Linked DNA regions of Homo sapiens: regions 1, 2 and 3 are each linked to region 4. The links are contacts of gene promoters, found by promoter capture Hi-C in human tissues and cell types (Jung and others, 2019). All regions are on one chromosome and are shown on one strand. Each heading gives the region's core, a stretch centred on a gene start or on the middle of the fragment in contact. The rest is flanking DNA. Distances are from core to core; before and after follow the strand shown. Region 1 has its middle 13 kb from the start of TPRG1-AS1. Region 2 overlaps LOC107986167 (a long non-coding RNA gene). Region 3 has its middle 48 kb from the start of TPRG1-AS1. Region 4 holds the start of SST (somatostatin).

Region 1 (3,061 bases), core at 215-2,714, 1.3 Mb before region 4:
AATAGCTTAAGTCTGGGAAGTTGAGGCTGCAGTGAGCTGTGATTGTGCACTGCACTCCAGCCTGGGTGACAGAGCAAGACCCTGTCTCAAAAAAAAAAAAAAAAAGTAAATAATGATAGGTAATACTTACATAGCATCTATGATACAGCAGGCACTGTTCTGAGAGTTCTACTTATTAATATATTAGCTCACCTAGTCTTTGCAACTCTGAGATAGAATGCTGTTTTCATCTAACCTTTACAGGTGGGTAAGCTAAAGCTCAGTGAGATTATATACTTACCTGGGGTCACATAGCTCACAGGGACAGAACCAGGATTTAACTCAGGTGCTCTGACACTACAGTGCTGTGCTAACCTACCATGCTACAACGCTGCCCATGATTATGGATATTAATCCACAGGCTTCTTTCAACTTTATATTCTGAGAGCTGAAACATAGGCTTTTTACCCCTAATTAATATGGCATGTCTTCCTAGACAATATATATTCTAATTACATTTTTAATATCTGTCATTTGTAATGATTCAGCTTCTGATAAGCTTGTTAACTGAATGTCATTTTTTTCTCCACCTAAACTACCTTTGGAAAGTTCACACACATCATGCAGTTATTTATGATTTGAGGAAGAGCATCATATATGTAAACTAAAAAATGTTTATTAAAGTTAGAATTAATAATGATTGATTTGATTTCACTGATGAGTTAATTGGGGAAATGAACAGGTAATTGGGTATTTACAAAAGAAGGTCAAGAATGGTTTGTGGGAGTAGTCAGTCAGATCCATTTCCTAAGCTTTTGCTCAGCCTTTCCTTCCTAAAACCCAGCCTGCTGGGGAGCAGGAAAAGAAAGCAAGGCACCGTACATTTGCTTACGACTGACACACTTTTCTCACAAAAGCTGTGCTCTGATCTGATCTACTCTGACACCTCCAAAGGCACTTTTGTCTACAGAATAAAACCAAACCTCATCTGTTTCTCAAGGGTCCTCCGCACTCGTCTGGCTCCAGACCGCTTGTTCATGACTGTCTTCCAATAAGCTTCAGACCCTTGCCATTCCCCCAAAAAGATTTTTCCCCCCAAAATCTCTAAGCTCTCCATTGCTCCAACAGGCCCTTCCCTCTCTAATTCTGCCAAAGTTCTAGTAAGTTTTCAAGACTGTTTCTGGGGTGTCCAATCTTTTGGCTTCCTTGGGCCACATTAGAGGAAGAATTGTCTTGGGCCACACATAAAGTACATTAACACTAACAGTAGCTGATGAGCTTGAAAAAAAAATCACCGGCTGGGTGTGGGGGCTCACGCCTGTAATTCCAGCACTTCGGGAGGCTGAGGCAGGTGGATCGCCTGAGGTCAGAGTTCGAGACCAGCCTGGCCAACATGGTGAAACCCCGTCTCTACTAAAAATACAAAAATTAGCTGGGCGTGGTGGCAGGTGCCTGTAATCCCAGCTACTTGGGAGGCTAAGGCAGGAGAATCGCTTGAACTCAGGAGGCAGAGGTTGCAGTGAGCTGAGATCATGCCATTGTACTCCAGCCTGGCGCAACAAGAGCGAGACTTTGTCTTAAAAAAAAAAATCACCAAAAAATCTCATAATGTGTTAAGAAAGTTTATAAATTTGTGTTGGGCCAAATTCAAAGCTATTCTGGGCTGCATGAGGCCCACGGGCCATGGATTATACAAGCTTGGACTGTACCTTCTCTACTTGTATGTCCCACATACCCTCAGTTCAGAATTAGCTTTTTCTTTCTTCCATTTCCAATGGCACAAAATAATACTTCTATTTTAGAACTGATCCCTCATTATGTTGCACTGAATTTTGTATGTGTGTCTACTTGTTCCACCAGAGTGAGCCCCTAAATAGTAGGGTGAAGGTCACATTCATCTCTGAATGGTCCTTCATTAACATAGTTCCTGGCAAGAGGAAGTTTTCAATAAATTTGGTTTACTTGAATTGAGCTTCTTATACAGCAGAGTGAAATTATTTTGTGACTACAGTTTGAGAGCATACTCCCCAAGGCTAAAACGGACAATGAACTTTTTTCAACTAACTGTAAGATAGTATAAGCCATCAATCTCTTAAAGCCAGAGGGAAATTCACCTTTAAGCACTTGGAGATTTATTTAACTAAAGGAGTCATTCCACCAGAAAGCATCATTGTGATTTCTCTCATTATCTAAAATGAATAAGAATTATTATAATGATAAATTAGTGGCAGGAGACACTGATTTTTAGAAAGGAAAATTAATAATGCACAGTGAATAAAATCTCATTTAGATGTTCTTTGCACATGCTCTCCAATAATAATCATTCAATTTATAGCACTTTACAGTTAGTGCATCCATATATAATTTCATCTTCACATCAACACAGAAAAGCTAGTCTCATTGCCAACTTACAAATAACAAAACTGAGTCTAGGCAGGCAAGGAAACAAATAACTATTAAGTACCAGAGTTGGGTCTCAAATCCAGGACCCCTGACTATATCCTGGGTTATCTTCTCCCAGGCATTGCCAGCCCAGGAACCTCCCAAGGGTAAGTCCTGCAGATGAGCAGCTTCCTCTCCAGGCCCCTGGGCATCCTAGTCAGAGGCCTCTGTGTATCTGTGCCACCCCAGCTACACTTGGTAGAGCACACTTGAGGTGTCTCAGTGCTATAGAACCACCCACTTCAGGGTGTTTCACTGTGCATAGTCCTCTTAGGCCTCTAATGACATTTCAGAAAATTACTTTCACTTTTTTAATCAAAGTCCCCTGCCTTTACGAAACAATCAGTGTCTGACTCTCTAAATCTCTTCTTCCTATCATAATTGCCATCCCCAGTAAACTGCCTTATTTTTTTCAAATATCTTCTTTCAAAATGAAATTAAGCTTTGGGAGGCCAAGGCAGGTGGATCACGAGGTCAGGAGATGGAGACCATCCTGGCTAAAACAGTGAAACCCCGTCTCTACTAAAAATACAAAAAAATTAGCCGGGCTTGGTGGCGGGCGCCTGTAGTCCCAGTCACTCGGGAGGCTGAGGCAGGAGAATGGCATGAACCTGGGAGGCGGAGCTTGCAGTGAGCAGAG
Region 2 (2,758 bases), core at 11-2,510, 1.4 Mb before region 4:
GCCTAGGCAACAAGAGCAAACTTCCATCTCAAAAAAAAAAAAAAAAAATTAGCTGGGTGTGGTGGCACATGCCTGCAGTCCCAGAATTTTGGGGAGGCTGAGGAGGGAGGATTGCTTGAGCCCAGAAGCTCCAGGATGCAATGAGCTTTGATTGTGCCACTGCAGTGCAGCCTGGGAGCCTGGGAAAGAGAGTGAGACCCTATCTCAAAAAAAAAAAAAAATTTGAATCAGTGGACTGGGAGAAGAAGACCCACCCACAATCTGGGTGGGCACCATCTAATCAGCTGCCAGCACAGCTAGGATAAAAGCAGGCAGAGGAATGCGGAAGGACTAGACTGGCTGAGCCTTCTGGCCTCCACCTTTCTCCTGTGCTGGATGCTTCTTGCCCTTGAACATCAGACTCCTAGTTCTTCAGCTTTTGGACCCTTTGACCTACACTAGTGGTTTGCCAGGGGCTCTCAGGCCTTCAGACACAGGCTGAAGGCTGCACTGTCGGCTTCCCTGCTTTTGAGGTTTTGGGACTCAGACTGACTTCGTTGCTCCTCAGCTTGCAGATGGCCTATTGTGGGACTTCATCTTGCGATGGTGTGAGTCAGCACTCCTTAATAAATTCCCTTTCATATATACATCTATCCTGTTAGTCCTGTCCCTCTAGAGAACCCTGACTAATACAGTGATTGAACACTTAATTTCATGATTTTATGACTCTTATTTTATTGAAAGCAAAATGAATGAAATACATCCATATCCTCAAGTGTAAATGGATTTTAATCTTCAATTAATTTCATAACGGTAACAATATTTGTGCCTTTGAACTTTTCATTATGGATCAGATCACTTATTCCTGAGAAGTTAAAGTGTTTCCACTATAAAGCTGCTGATGTCATCCTTCAACTGGAAGGAAAGTTGTAATCTCAGTATATTTGCTTCAAATACTTCTTGATTAGGCTGAGGAGTTAGTTATTAGCTCATGTTAAGAGAGGAACATATATTAATTAGGACTCTCCCAGGAAAGAATGAACCAGACAGCAACAGCTATCTCCTGTTAGGGAAGCAAACATTGGTCTAGCTGCAACATTCAGCTACTGGAACTCCATAATACACACACACACACACACACACACACATGCACACACACACAGACACGAGGAATCCAAACATTAATGAAAATGTGTATCCACCGCCAGCCATCTTTCCCTTTTGTTTTCCAATACTATGAGATATGAATTGCATGTCTTGCAAATACTATGAGATGTGAATTGCATGTCTATGAATTGTGGGGATAGCTTACAGCTGAATAGCTCATTGACAGACTGACACACCTTCAGGCATTGAGTATCCTTCACCTCACCCCACCTATAGGACCGTAATGTACCTATGCCCCACTTGGTAACAGAGCCCGGTACTTGCTTTTCGCTTTTGTTTTGTTTTTAGAGTCAAGGCAAGGCTTTACTAGTTTATGATTCATGTAACTTGGATAAAATCACTCAATCTACGTGTCCTCATTTGTTAAACAGCACAATCATATTTTTCTTAGAGGACTGCTGCAAGGATCATATGAGAAAATGTTTGCAACTATTCTTGGTAAAGCATGTGCACATATTGTCTGTTACTGTAATTTAACATGTTTTATCAAGCATCTACTATTTCTGGGGCAAGAGAAATGACAAAAATATGGTTGGCTTCCTTTGGGGGTGCGAAGTCTCTCCTGAAACATTTGGGTAAGGTCAAGTGTTGCGTAACTATTTGTAGCAACTGTGTGGACTTAGGAAGTTTCCTCTTACGCATGATGTCAGATAATGGGCTGTATCTAGATACTACACAGGAAACATAGGTTTACAAGACCAGCATCCATTTAGGCCACATAACAGTGTTCCAAGTGGAGGGTGGAGGAGAGATGGCAGTTCTGAGAGAAACGCATAGTGAGAGACAGAAAGCTTAGTTAATGAATAGCTTTCTCTAGATTCTGATTCAGAATAAAAGAAGTTATATTTAACCTAATTAAGCAAAGTTACTTTAATTAGGTTGAAATCTTTAAGTTGCATACATGGAAAAGATCCTTGGACTTTCTCAGTTTCTTGTCAGAGGAAAAGAAACATGAGGAATGACAAGCTGAGTGGAATTCTGAGGCAAGCCTGAGTAATGAAACAGCTAAAGAACAGGGCATTCTCAAAGGATGGCTCCTTATTTTTATGATAGAATATATATTGAGCAGAAAGTTTCTTAATTCAGTAAGACCCCTTGACAAGCTCATACGTATTGGTATTTCTATTGGTACTTTATAAAGCCACATTTTTATGTATAGGTTAATAGTGTCCATTATTAGAATATCTAATTTATAATAAAATAATTGTTGGCAATATTCACTGAGCACCTATTATGTCTTCAACGCATGGTACATTTTTTTCTTTTCTTTTTTTTTTGGAGACGGAGTCTCACTCTGTCACCCAGGCTGGAGTGCAACAGTGCAATCCTGGCTCACTGCAACCTCCGCCTCCCAGGTTCAAGTGATTCTTCTGCCTCAGCCTCCCAAGTAGCTGGAATTGCAGGCATGTGCCACCACGCCCAGCCGTTTCACCACATTAGCCAGGCTGATCTCAAACTCCCAATCTCTGGTGATCCGCCTGCCTCAGCCTCCCAAAGTGCTGGGATTACAGGCGTGAGCCACCATGCCTGACCCATTTTGTTTTTAATAACCCTAACAGGAGGTGTTACTATCCTCAGTGTTCCTATGAAGAAGCTGAAGATCAGAGATAAA
Region 3 (2,752 bases), core at 130-2,629, 1.3 Mb before region 4:
TCAGAGTTTGATGTATTTAAAAATCTGAGGAAAGATTTTCTGAACTGTACAGAAAGTAAGAGAGTATTTAAAGAGGACCATCTGATGGAGCCAGCGATTACAGTGAGAGCCCCAGGGGAAAAGTGACACATAAGGCAATAGAATGGATGCTTCTCAGCTTAGAAATTATTCTACCTATGTCAAATCTTGAAAATGTTTGCTAAAGAAAAAAATGCATAGAAGGAGGGAGAGAGAGAAGAAAACATAAATGACATGAATTTAAAAAGCACTTCTGGCCGGGTGCAGCGGCTCATGCCTGTAATCCCACCACTTTGGTAGGTTGAGGCTGGTGGATCACGAGGTCAGGAGTTCGAGACCAGTCTGACCAATTTGGTGAAACGCTGTCTCTGCTAAAAATATAAAAAATTAGCCAGGTATGGTGGCACGCGCCTGTAATCCCAGCTACTCAGGAGGCTGAGGGAGGAGATTCACTTGAACCTGGGAGGCAGAGGTTTCAGTGAGCCAAGATCGCACCACTGCACTCCAACCTGGGTGACAGAGTGAGACTCAGAAAAAAAAAAAAAAAAAGAGAAAGAAAGAAAGCACTTCGAACTGGCACTGACGAACCTCACTTGCTTTGAGTTGTTTTTCCAGCAAGGAAAATAGTTTGTGCCAGTGTACCTACCCTCTAGCACCAAGTCCCTCTTGTAGTCATGTTGCTCATAGCTAAGAGGTATCTCACAGTTTAAGACTCAATTTCAGTAGAAAACATATTTAATTAATTTCAACATATTTTCCAGATTAAACGTTAAAGTAAAATACAAATAGATGGAGATGCCATTTTTATTTCTGATCTTTTTGTATATGGCATCTTCTCTCCTAGTAGCTTTTAGAAAACTTCTCTCTGTCCACAGTATTCTTGGTCTTTTTTTCACTTCTTATGATAGCCATGACATGTACATCTTCAACCTGAAAAATCAGGTCCTTTGGATCTGGGAATTTTTTTTCAATCATTGATTGGGTAATTTCTTCTTCACTGTTTACTCTGGTCTTTATTTCCAGAGCTCCTGATAGTTGACTCTTTGAGGATATGGTTTAGTCTTTCAATTTTCTTCTTTATTCTATTAACTATGTCCTTTGTCTTTTTTATTTTAATTTCCCGGTTATGTCTGTATTCCAGCCATTCTTCAGACCTTTTTATTACATATTTTTAATCTCCCAAAGCTCTTTTTTATTCTCCAGTTGTTCTTGTTTCTTGTTTGGTTTTTAAAGATATGAAACATCATATTCTTATTTCCAGAATATTCTATATTTTTATATCTCTCTGAGGATATTGTTTATAATTTTAATTGGCTTCTTTCATTATATCTACTTTAATTATTTTTATTTGTTATTGTATTTTATTTATTTAGTCTGTTTTGTGAGAGGCTTTCCACAGATGCTTTTCTTTTTTCTTGGAATTGTCTGTTTCCTTTGACAATTTTTCTTTAACTTCGATACATTTTTCTTGTTGCTATTGAACAGCTCTTTATATATTAAGGATATTAGCTCTCTGCTTTAGTATGGTCATAATTTTCTTAGCAATTAATTACTTGCCTCATTAAGACATCTGCATAGAAAATTTTAATTGCTATTTGGTTATATTTAGTGATCATTTTATCTTGGTGGTTTCAGTAATACTTAGACAAACCTTCCACAATGGAAGATTATATTTTATAAAATGTAGGTTTTTCTAAAATTTCAATGGTTTCTCTCATTTTTTACATTGATATTATTCGTTCCTACAGAATTAATTTTGGTGTAAAAAGAAAAGATTTCACTTCCTTTTTTCCCACACAGCTAGACACATGTATCAACATAATTTATTGAGAAATACACTGATTGGAAACGTCATTGGTATCAGTTAGGGTTGTATTTGGCTGGATATTTTATAAGCCTTACCAAAGTCATTAAATTAAAAAGATATTTTCCAACATTTAAGCAGAGATCCACAGATGAAAAGTGCTGGACTGTTTTTGCATTGCCATTACTGTCTCTAAAATCCTGCTCCTTATATCTTTATTCTTACAGTTTCCTCATGTGATGTAAAGGCTGCTCAACCCCTCACCTAAAATCAGTATATTCAGACAAGAAGGAAGAAGACAGAGCAGAAAAGGAGGGGAAAAACAAGGAGAAGGAGGATGAAGAAGAGGATGTGATGGTGGTGGTAATAAGGAGAAATAGGCAATGCCTTTAACAGGAAAGGACCTGTCCCTAAACCCCAGTAGACAGCTATTTACATCTTCTTTAGAAGGCTGTATCTTATGGACATATTTGCTGCAAGAAAGGCTAGGAAATGATTTCTAAAGCTGGACATATTGTTACCTTAAGCTTGTATGCGGCTCCCATTAGTAAAAGAAAAAAGGACAATGGATGTTGGATATATAACTAACAGTTGGGTACCAATTGCTACATGCACTTGATGGATGATTTAGTGCATTTGGTTGTGTATAAAATAATAATGCAGAGTATTTTATAAAACAGAACATCTGGAAACAAATTAGTTATATGTATTTAAAAATAAGAAAAATTAATAAACAAGGCAACTATTGACTTCAGGGAAAACAAAGAACTGTATAAAAACTCAAGCAATCATAATTTATTATTTATCTTAACAATAAACCTTGCTTTTACAGTCATAATAATATAAACATTGAAATCTTTCTGACTTCAGAAGATAAGAAAAAATATTTCAAACTTAGCCTTTAAAGTTCAATTTATTCATCCTTGCTCA
Region 4 (2,786 bases), core at 120-2,619:
AAGTACTGAGAATATTTTAATACCTAATATGAGCTTCGCATGGTTTCCAGAGATGCAGCATATCTTTTTAGCTAATATTGGCTTTTTTGAAGCTCATAAGATAACAGCTCTTAAAGATCCTGTAGGGATCATCTCGTCCATGCTAGGAAATTAGCTGGTCCTTCCTCAGTAAGGAACTATTTAGATAAAAGCAGTCAGAACTCTGGCCTGAACAGTAAACATTTAACCAGAGTTCAATCAGAATTCAAGGACAGGTTTTCTTAAACTTTCTTTGTTTCTAGGAGATCAGGCAGAGCTGAATTTAACCAAGAATCTTTTGATCCTTTCCACATATAGATATACAATAGTGGTCACATATGTTCTGGGAGTTCCTAGACCTTATATGTCTAAACTGGGGCTTCCTGACATAAAACTATGCTTACCGGCCAGGAATCTGTTAGAAAACTCAGAGCTCAGTAGAAGGAACACTGGCTTTGGAATGTGGAGGTCTGGTTTTGCTCAAAGTGTGCAGTATGTGAAGGAGAACAATTTACTGACCATTACTCTGCCTTACTGATTCAAATTCTGAGGTTTATTGAATAATTTCTTAGATTGCCTTCCAGCTCTAAATTTCTCAGCACCAAAATGAAGTCCATTTCAATCTCTCTCTCTCTCTTTCCCTCCCGTACATATACACACACTCATACATATATATGGTCACAATAGAAAGGCAGGTAGATCAGAAGTCTCAGTTGCTGAGAAAGAGGGAGGGAGGGTGAGCCAGAGGTACCTTCTCCCCCATTGTAGAGAAAAGTGAAGTTCTTTTAGAGCCCCGTTACATCTTCAAGGCTTTTTATGAGATAATGGAGGAAATAAAGAGGGCTCAGTCCTTCTACTGTCCATATTTCATTCTCAAATCTGTTATTAGAGGAATGATTCTGATCTCCACCTACCATACACATGCCCTGTTGCTTGTTGGGCCTTCCTAAAATGTTAGAGTATGATGACAGATGGAGTTGTCTGGGTACATTTGTGTGCATTTAAGGGTGATAGTGTATTTGCTCTTTAAGAGCTGAGTGTTTGAGCCTCTGTTTGTGTGTAATTGAGTGTGCATGTGTGGGAGTGAAATTGTGGAATGTGTATGCTCATAGCACTGAGTGAAAATAAAAGATTGTATAAATCGTGGGGCATGTGGAATTGTGTGTGCCTGTGCGTGTGCAGTATTTTTTTTTTTTTAAGTAAGCCACTTTAGATCTTGTCACCTCCCCTGTCTTCTGTGATTGATTTTGCGAGGCTAATGGTGCGTAAAAGGGCTGGTGAGATCTGGGGGCGCCTCCTAGCCTGACGTCAGAGAGAGAGTTTAAAACAGAGGGAGACGGTTGAGAGCACACAAGCCGCTTTAGGAGCGAGGTTCGGAGCCATCGCTGCTGCCTGCTGATCCGCGCCTAGAGTTTGACCAGCCACTCTCCAGCTCGGCTTTCGCGGCGCCGAGATGCTGTCCTGCCGCCTCCAGTGCGCGCTGGCTGCGCTGTCCATCGTCCTGGCCCTGGGCTGTGTCACCGGCGCTCCCTCGGACCCCAGACTCCGTCAGTTTCTGCAGAAGTCCCTGGCTGCTGCCGCGGGGAAGCAGGTAAGGAGACTCCCTCGACGTCTCCCGGATTCTCCAGCCCTCCCTAAGCCTTGCTCCTGCCCCATTGGTTTGGACGTAAGGGATGCTCAGTCCTTCTAAAGAGTTTTGGTGCTTTTCTGGGTCCCTCAGCTCCCGAAGCTCTTGAGAAAACTATCAAAGGCTAGAATCCCCTTCTAACTCTTTTTTTCCCCCATGATAAGCGCAGTCGGTCACAGTTCAGGTGAGTTCTTACTTGGCATTCAAGAAAATTACAAAATCTGGGTAGTTGTCTGGGCACGAAGCGACAATGGCGTCTATCCCTGGTGCTGACCCTGGGAAGCGCTGACCCAGGTGCTGAAACGCAGACCTCTGAAGCTGCTACCTCTTAGCGTACCTCACTTCCAAACGTCGGGACTAGGGCAAAGGGGCAATCTAAAGACCGAACGCCGTATGTTTGAGATTGTGAGAAGTCTCGTTCCCCTACAGTTTACTTGGTAAAAATGGTAAAACAATTCTACTTTGTAGCTCGTGATGTGAAAATTGAATTAAACTGTTGGCACACACTTTATCTTACCAGAACGGTCTTTATGTGTGTGTGTGTGTGTGTGTGTGTGTTTGTGCGTGTGTGTGTGTGTGTGTGTGTGTTAAGTCTACAGGGACAGAAAGGTTGCAGAAACATTTGAGCTCTTAAAGCCTTTTTGTGTAACTTGGTAATTATAGCAACTATCCTTATTTTTATATCCTTGATTGATTTTAAATGTGACAAAAAATGCGCAGCTGTAAAAACTGGATTTTGTGTGTGACCAAATCTGTTCTTTAATTTAGGCTTTTCAAATTTTTTCCATTGTCCTCCCCACTTCTCTTTCTCTCTTTTTCTATCCCTTCTGCCCTATACAGGAACTGGCCAAGTACTTCTTGGCAGAGCTGCTGTCTGAACCCAACCAGACGGAGAATGATGCCCTGGAACCTGAAGATCTGTCCCAGGCTGCTGAGCAGGATGAAATGAGGCTTGAGCTGCAGAGATCTGCTAACTCAAACCCGGCTATGGCACCCCGAGAACGCAAAGCTGGCTGCAAGAATTTCTTCTGGAAGACTTTCACATCCTGTTAGCTTTCTTAACTAGTATTGTCCATATCAGACCTCTGATCCCTCGCCCCCACACCCCATCTCTCTTCCCTAATCCTCCAAGTCTTCAGCG

What was found. Contacts are between HindIII fragments. The study calls those that stand out against the background at their distance.
Region 1: a contact is called between a fragment that was not itself captured here and the fragment with the promoter of SST in region 4, in 1 of the 25 tissues and cell types used here (hippocampus).
Region 2: a contact is called between a fragment that was not itself captured here and the fragment with the promoter of SST in region 4, in 1 of the 25 tissues and cell types used here (aorta).
Region 3: a contact is called between a fragment that was not itself captured here and the fragment with the promoter of SST in region 4, in 1 of the 25 tissues and cell types used here (IMR-90 fibroblasts).

Annotation. Positions count from the first base shown.
Region 1 is chr3:188,933,064-188,936,124 of GRCh38, reverse strand. No RefSeq gene overlaps it. Among named protein-coding and RNA genes, the nearest start is that of TPRG1-AS1, 13 kb to the left of the region's middle. The HindIII fragment of the contact is 3,806 bases long and covers 1-3,061 here.
Region 2 is chr3:189,083,817-189,086,574 of GRCh38, reverse strand. All of the region lies in intron 2 of LOC107986167 (a long non-coding RNA gene), which reads left to right. It also overlaps a transcript of TPRG1 not described here. Among named protein-coding and RNA genes, the nearest start is that of TPRG1, 87 kb to the left of the region's middle. The HindIII fragment of the contact is 4,807 bases long and covers 1-2,758 here.
Region 3 is chr3:188,994,702-188,997,453 of GRCh38, reverse strand. It overlaps a transcript of TPRG1 not described here. Among named protein-coding and RNA genes, the nearest start is that of TPRG1-AS1, 48 kb to the right of the region's middle. The HindIII fragment of the contact is 7,765 bases long and covers 1-2,752 here.
Region 4 is chr3:187,668,977-187,671,762 of GRCh38, reverse strand. SST (somatostatin) reads left to right here and starts at 1,369. Exons shown (of 2, transcript NM_001048.4): 1 at 1,369-1,609; 2 at 2,486-2,786. The coding sequence starts at 1,472. The coding sequence ends at 2,698. The HindIII fragment of the contact is 6,645 bases long and covers 1-2,786 here.